2 separate regions of the Homo sapiens genome follow, and region 1 is linked to region 2. Evidence: promoter capture Hi-C in human tissues and cell types (Jung and others, 2019). All regions are on one chromosome and are shown on one strand. The core of a region is centred on a gene start or on the middle of the fragment in contact, and the rest is flanking DNA. Distances in the headings are between cores, read along the strand shown. Region 1 holds the start of SCUBE1-AS1 (SCUBE1 antisense RNA 1). Region 2 holds the start of SAMM50 (SAMM50 sorting and assembly machinery component).

The links. Contacts are between HindIII fragments. The study calls those that stand out against the background at their distance.
Region 1: a contact is called between a fragment that was not itself captured here and the fragment with the promoter of SAMM50 in region 2, in 1 of the 25 tissues and cell types used here (lymphoblastoid cells).

What each region holds. Positions count from the first base shown.
Region 1 is chr22:43,275,710-43,279,447 of GRCh38, reverse strand. The region is part of intron 4 of SCUBE1 (signal peptide, CUB domain and EGF like domain containing 1); the gene reads left to right. It overlaps SCUBE1-AS1 (SCUBE1 antisense RNA 1), which reads right to left and starts at 3,506. Exons shown (of 2, transcript NR_134582.1): 1 at 3,437-3,506. RefSeq lists an enhancer at 1,228-1,728. The HindIII fragment of the contact is 5,790 bases long and covers 1-3,738 here.
Region 2 is chr22:43,953,651-43,957,724 of GRCh38, reverse strand. It overlaps SAMM50 (SAMM50 sorting and assembly machinery component), which reads right to left and starts at 2,283. Exons shown (of 15, transcript NM_015380.5): 1 at 2,127-2,283. The coding sequence starts at 2,147. It also overlaps the pseudogene RPL35AP36. RefSeq lists enhancers at 1,539-1,748, 1,554-2,305, 2,429-2,508, 2,589-2,638, 2,306-3,058 and a silencer at 2,191-2,465. The HindIII fragment of the contact is 14,031 bases long and covers 1-4,074 here.

The DNA of each region.
Region 1 (3,738 bases), core at 542-3,041, 680 kb after region 2:
CGTAGCACATGCTTACTCTGTGGTGGGCTTAAAAATAAAGGTTTCTTTCCTGCTGGCACTCAGCCTCCTAAGTGGTTGGAGGTGAGGCCCTGCACAGCATATGCACCGAGGCGGCCACTGTCAGAAGCACTGCCAGAGAGCAAGCCCACCCTGCCTCTGGGGCCTGAGCCCCCTGTTCCAAGTCCACAGCTGTCTCAGGACTGGCTGGGGGCTCCTTGACAAAGGTTACCTGAGAGTTTTAGGGTACAGGTTTCCTGGGGTTGAGCCAGAGCAGAGACCTAGTGTTTCTCCCCAGCAGCGTCTGGGGCAGCCTGTATCTGAAACCCTTGCCCTTAGCCTCTTTCCCACCCCAGACTCTAGTCCTGGGCCCTCCCAAGAGCCTCTTCCAGGCTGGTCCTCGAGCTTCCTCTTGACTCTGTCTTCCACTCTGCCTCTCCCACTCTGGCTTGTCTGTGGCCTGCAGGCTGACTGGACACTGTCCTTCCCCCAAACCTGTCTCAGCCCACAGGTGTCCTCAGGAGGCCCAGCCCCACCCTCCCGCAGCTCAGGTGTCCTCGACAGGCCCAGCTCCACCCTCCTGGAGCTTTGCTGTGGTTTCCATACAGGGTCGCCTGATGCTCACAGCCACCCTGTGACATGCTTTGGATAAGTACTAATGTCCCCATCATGGGAGGGAAAACTGAGCTTCCCTGAGCTGCACTGGGGGGGCAGGACTTCAGGATCAGGGGCTGGATTCTGAGGCCAATGTCAGTTCTTTTTGCCCTGCACCATCCACTTGCAGACTCAAAGAAACAAGCCAATGGACAGAGACCCATGGGCCCTCCTGAGCCACCTCAGCCACATATTGATAGGATCCTATCAGTGTGCCTAGCTGTCAGGTTCCTATTGGCTCCTGGGACGGGATTCCTATAGGATCTGGGCCAGGCCTTGACCTGAGGGGCCCTAGCACGGCTCCTGCAGGGCCAGAGACATCCCCTGCCCTGTTCCAGGGCTTTCCATTATCAACTGTGAGTGCTGGGGCAGCACGGCTAGGAACTTCCTGTTTAAAGAGAGGGTGTGGCCATGCCTCCGAATCCCATCCCAGCCTCAGCACCTGCCTTCTTCAGCCACTCCTTGGAGAAGATCAGCCAGGCAAGGGCGCCAGGCAGGACATGTGGGGTTGCAGGTTCTCCTCGCTCCCTTGCCTGCTGCAGACCAGGTGGACAGGAGAATAAACAGCTCCCTTGCTTACTGGAGAGATTTATGGTGCTACCGGAGGAGGCCTGTCCTGGCCCTGTGCGGTCCGGAATGGCCCTCAAGGTGGGGACAATAAATCCAGCCCATTATTTTTTATGAGCCTCCCACTCCATAAACAACTCTTTCGGCTGGTAAGCCCAGCTTCACGCCCCTCTCCTGGCCTGGCCTTGAGCCGGCGCCAGGGGCACCCCCAGTACTGACTTCACATCAGTGGTATAAATTTCCCCTAAGCTGCAGAACTTTCAAATCTCCCAGAGTTGTGGGTGCAGGGCAGGGAGAGCTGCAACCCAGAGGGCTAGGCCAACAGGTAGCTTGCCCAGCCCTGGCGTCCTTCTCTGCCACAAGTCCTGGGGCAAACATTCATATATTTTATGACAGAATTGTTTACGAGAATTAAAATGAGATCGTATATACAAGACATCGCCTCATGTAGAGCCCGGTCCAGATCACTAGAACTGTGCAAAGCTGTCATACGCATCATAGCTGAGCATAGTGCATAGACTCTGACACGAGTCATCAGATCCTGAGAACAGTCTGTGTCATGTAGCTACCCCATTTTGCAGGTGAGCAAATGGAGGCTGAAAAGCAAAGAGACTTGTCCGTAGTGAAGAAGTAGCAAAGCCAAGATTTGCACCCAGGCCCAACCGCCTCCTAAGATCAAAGACACTTGATGAACCAATGGATGGGGGGCCAGGGGCAGGGGTGCTGTGCAGCCCAGATGCCCTGTGACACAAGGAGCCCCTGTCTCGCCATGCTGCCCTCTGCCTAGGGCTGCGCTGCCGTCTTTTGCCTGAGTTAGTGCGGCAGCTGCCTCACAGGCCTCCCTGCCCCGCAAGCCTTCTGGTAGCAGCCAGAACCACTGCTCTGCCCAACCCTCTGGCTCTGTCATTCCCCACTCAAGACCTTCCCATGGCTCCTGAGAGGAATGTGGTTCTCTGCAGCCTGTCCTTGCTTGGCATGTCATGAACCAGCCATAGTGAACTTCTCATCCCGGCCTCTGCCCACACAGCTCCCTCTGTCTGGAACTCCCGCTCATCCTGACTGACCATCGCTCACTGAGAACCCTCTACACCTTTTCCCCGCACACCTCCTGATCCCCCAGGTGGAACCTACGCATCCCTGCCTCTGTCTCATTCGGCCTCCACCCTCAGCCTCCCTGCCCTGTCTCTCATGTCTCTGCTCCCGGGCCTTTCTCCCCCAAGTGAGGATATGCCCTTGGACACAAGGACCCGCTGGCCCCCCAGTGTCCAGCCTGGGGTCTGTAGGGAGCAGGCAGTCAGGAAAAGCTGAGGCGAGGTCATGGAGTTGACGTGCGTGAGAACCGAAAGCATGCTGCCCTGGAGGGAAGCTGGCCTGCACGCCTGTTCTAGAGTGAAGTAGCAGAGGCCCTGGAAACACCATGTGTCCTGTCAGAGGTCACTTAGCATGTTGGGGGCAGAGCTGGAACTTGTCCCAGGCCCCTAGGCTCCAGACCAGTGCCCACCCCCTACACCGTAGCCCACAGCCTGGCTTCCCACCTGGGGTTTGTGGGCACAGGCCCTACGCATGGAAAGTCATGCAGATCTGGAGTGTGGGTTCGGAAACCACCGGGCAGATGCCTGGTTGGCAGAGTGGGGAAGCAGCCGAGGTCATCCTGGGTCATTAGGGAGTGGTGTGAGCCCTCCCTAGCCTCATTAGGGAAATTGGGTTGTGACTGTGGCCACAAGGCCAATCTCCTGGTGGGACGTCTGCCTGGCCACCCCTGGCCGCAGCATTCCCCAGGTCCTCGTCACCCGCCTGAGGCCAGCCAGGTGGGTTTTTGTCTCCCGGCCTGGTGGCTGCTTGATTATGTCACCAGACTCTTTCAGCATGTACGTCCCATGGGACTTCTTCCCTTCCTCCTCAGCCCCCGATCCTGGCTCCTCCTCTGCCTCAGCCCTCTCCTAGCTCTCCCCTAAGCTTCTTGAGTCTCCTTGCTGACCAGCAGTGGCCACTTCTCCAGCTCTGACCCCAGTACCAACTGTCCCCTAGACGGGGACCCCAGCTACAGAATTCCCACCTGCCCAAAACCAAACGCAGCATCTTCCCATCCTCCCAGACCTGTGCTTCCTAGCGCGTCCCCCATCAGTGGGGCACCAGCGCTGGGGTGCTGCCTTCACCCTTCCCCTGTGTGGCTCCCACATCCTAGTGTGACCGGATCCCACGTCCGAGCTCTACTCACCTCCCAAACCCAGCCAGCTTCCTCACCCCTGTTGCCCTGCCTTCTTCAAAGGTTGTGGTTGCTAATTGGTGTCCCTACCTCCGCCTCATCCCCCTTCCCTCCTGCATCCTGCAGCCGGGGCGCTTTCTCCGCCCCCCTCCGAGTTCCTCCATTGTCAGGCACTGCTGCCTTCCTGCCTCCCAAGGCCTCCCACAGTCCAGTTCCTCTCTCCTGGTTCCTCCCCATCTGCCTGTTGTTCTCCCTGTTACGGCACACGTGCCCTTTACTGATTACAACCTCGGTATGTGTCATCCTCTGCCTTT
Region 2 (4,074 bases), core at 1,034-3,533:
TGGCTGGGCGCAGTGGCTCACACCTGTAATCTCAGCACTTTGGGAGGCCGAGGCGGGATGATCACTTGAGGTCAGGAGTTCAAGACCAGCCTGGCCAACATGATGAAACCCCCGTCTCTACTAAAAATACAAAAATTGGCTGGGTGTGGTGGCGTGCGCCTATAATCCCAGCTACATGGGAGGCTGAGGCAGGAGAATCGCTTGAACCTGGGAGGCGGAGGTTGCAGTGAGTGGAGATTGCACCATTGCACTCCAGCCTGGGCAACACAGTGAGACTCCATCTCAAAAGAAATGTAGTTACAATTAACCATTAATCAAGTTGCCTTTTTTTTTTCAAGAGCACAAATCCACATTGATTTATTGACTTTTCATTAGTTTAAATCCTTGAGGGGTACAGCATTACTCGGATTCTGTGTCCAACAGCCTTAGCAGGAAGATTGCTTCAGAATTTGGCACGAATCATGCCATTGTTTCTGTGGGCCCGAGTTACCTTTCCCCAGATTACTCTGGCTTTGTTTGATTTGCCGCCAGGAGTCACTATGTTGTTCTTTGCTTTGTATACATGAGCCCAAATAGAATTCTGTTTCATCTCGGGCATAAACACCTTCAATTTTAAGAAGAGCTGTGTGCTCCCTTTGGTTCCGGAGACTCCACTTATAGCCAGCAAAAATGGCCTTGGACCACAGCCTTCCAGACATATTTCCTTTCAGAAGTCCTGCTCCCGGCAGGCCGCCACAGGAGCCAAGATGGCAGGAAGAGCTCAGGTTGCACTCTGACCTACTTGCTAGTAACCAAAAGTCACAGATACTATTTGCATCCCCATTGATTTTACAGATAGGATTTCTAAAATTAGAATCATAAGGCTTTTGCTTAAGAGTTGCTTTAGATGTTTTTCAGATCTCGAATTCCAGCAAAACTGATGCTGCCAACCAGTTTGAAGACTCCTCCCCGCAACAGAGGAACGGAATCAGCATGAGAAGTTTCCTCATCTCCCTGTCCCATAACTTCACCCTTCACTCTTCCACCAATCAAGGATCTCCACACTTCAGCAAAAACATGAGGTCCAAACTCCTGAAGGAGATGGATTTGAGGTTTCCTCTCTTTTCCCATCTCCTCGTTCAGCGGCCCTGCAACTGAAACTCTTTCTCTGCTGCAACCCACTGTCTGAGTGTATTGACTTATCGAGCACACTGAGCAACAGACCTATTACAGTTACACAAAGAGATGTCAGAAGAGAAACGGTGTTTGATCTGAATGAAAGACATATAAAGGGAAGTTAAGTCCAATTATCGATGTCAGGCTGCGACTTCTGTGCTAAATTTTTTTGGAAGTTAATGGGGAACTACTGAAAACGTCTATGCAGGTCAAGTGAAGCAATCAAAGTTGCAGTAGAAAAGTAGTGTTGGGGCTGAGACTCAGGAAATCTGAGGTTTTAGGCCATTTGGAACCAGTAACTATGTGACCTTGGAGAAGTAACTCATTATCTGGCCCTTATTTAAGATTAGGATAAACGAGAGGAGTTTGGCAACCAGTACAGTTAGTCAGGCGCCAGGCACCCAAGTATTCACATGCATTGTCTTTTAATTCTCTTTTAAGCCAGGCGAGGTAGGTACTATTACTACCTCCACTTTAAAACAGGAAGTAAGGCAGAGAGCGGTTCCGTCTTTTGCACGGTAGACAGGAGAAAAGAGGACCCCTAGATAGGTTTGAGTTAGAAGACTTCAAAGGATTCTTGTTGCTCTAGGAGCCTACAATGGCTCCAGCAGCGGCTGAGCGGGGAAAGGCTGGAAGTGACCAGTAAAGAGAGAAAACTTAAAATCATGCAAAGAAAGAGCACATTCACTGCGGTCTAAGACATCACAGAAAGTTGGCAAGTCCTTTGGGCCACGGACTCGCCGAGTGACCTTTAGCCAAGTCTCGTCCCTCCTATCAGGTTCCTGCTCGAAGGTCTGCAAGACTCGCTGGCCCGAGGCGACCTCTTTTCGGCCTCCTCCACCCAGCCCGGCACCCTTGGCACCCTCTCTCCCGGTGAACCCTGGGCGCAGCCACGAGAGCGTCTCCCCGCGGCGCCCGTCTGCCCTGCTGGCCCAGAGGCCTCGCAGCCCGCGGGTCGCTGGGCCTCTTACCCGGGCGTGCACAGTCCCCATGGTTCCCTCTCCAGCCGCTGCCTCGCAGAGCTGCCCGGGCGGGACAGAGCGTCTGCTGCTGAGGGCAGAAGGCGGGTCCGCGGTGGCGGAGCTGCAGGTCAAGGCAACTCCCACAAACCCCCGGACGCGGAACACTGGGGGCGGCCATGATTCCCCGCCTTCTCCGCGCCCCCTGGCTCGCGATGCCTTCGCTCATTGGTCCTTATGCGCCTGTGACCCGGATGTTCACACGGCCGCGGAGGACGTTCTGACTGCGCAAGCGAAGAGCGTTCACTGACATCCGCGAAGCTGCTGGCGCGTGGACTGTGTGGGGAGGGCGCGTGGGGTGAAGGTGGGTCTGCGAGAGGGTCCGCTGGGAGGCTGGCGTCTGGCGTTGGCGCCTGAAAGAGATCAGACCAGCTGTTGGGTGTCACTCAAGTCCTGCTGCTCTTAGCCCTCCTAGCACCCCCGACCCGAGGGTGCTGTGCTTGTGCCCACGCGCCGGTGAAGCCCCGAGACTCAGCGGGGAGACCCCGGGTCCGGCCACCCCCGAGCTGCAGTAGTCGGGTCTCACCGGCATCTGCTACACAAACCCGGATTGGTGCCCTGGCTCCTTTCGTTCAAGTCATTGGAACCCCCACTCAAAATCGTCAAAATGAAGACGATGGTCGTGTCTCCTTCTTGGGGGTTGGATTAAAAGGGCCTAATGTGAGAGACGGAAAGCAAAGCTCCCGGCACCGGGCCGGGCACACGGTGGGCGCTAGATAATGACCGCTATTCACTCAACTGCAGCCAGTAATTATGGGCGAGGGCCATCTAGGTGCTTGCATGAGAACCAGTCATATCGGTGAAGAAGACGGCCATGGGCTTAGGTTTTGGTGGCAAAACAGCTCCCCTGCCCCAAAAAAGAAAAGAGAATAGAAAAGAAAAAGGCATAATAAATATCAGCCACACATTGTGATAAGTATATTGAAAGAAACGAGACAGAATAAGAAAAGAGGAAGCTTCAGTATCCTGTCACGTTGCCACTCCCTTCTGATAACAGAAGCATCTTTTCTTCTGTCCCCTTACTCCCTCCCAGAAACCCTGACACCCTTTCCATTTAAATAGCAGCACCCTAGGCCTCCAACATCCCTGAGCTAAATATTCAAGTCCACATGTCCCTTCTTGCCTGGAAAGAGACAGAACCCAGCACCAGCCAGGCCCCTGCCCTTCCCTCACTCTCAGTTCCCTGAGCCTCAATTCCTTATCTGTAAAATGGAAATGATAGCCTAAGGCATAAGGTCTGAGGACCTCATGAGATCAAGCATGGGGCCTGGCACTCTGTAAACATCGAATCAACCAGATTTTCTTTGCCCAAACAGCCCTCTTTTCTTACACTTTCTTCCTCGTTATTCTTCTGAGTATGCCACTTGTAAAGGATAAGCCATGAGGTTGCCCTGCAGAGTGCAAGATGGTTGCAATATTTGAGAGCCTATTGTGTGTGAGGCCCTGGAGGATGGCAGAGGGAACAGGAGGAAAACAAAGTCACATGCTTTACCCTCAAACAAAGGGCTGTCTGCGATAGTTACAATGTATATATTAAAGGCTATCTGTGATAGTTACAATGTATATAATATATTAAAGGCTGTCTGTGGTAGTTAACAATGTGTATATTAAAGGCTGTGATAGTTACAATGGGTATACTATATTAAAGGCGGTGGTAGTTACAATGTATATAATATATTAAAGGCTGTGATAGTTACAATGTACATAATATATTAAAGGCTGTGATAGTTATAATGTATATATTAAAGGCTGTCTGTGATGGTTATAATGTATATAATATATTGAAGGCTGTCTGTGATGGTTATAATGTATATAATATACTGAAGGCTGTCTGTGATAGTTAAGATGTATATATTAAAGGCTGTCTGTGATGGTTACAATGTATATAATAAAGACTGAG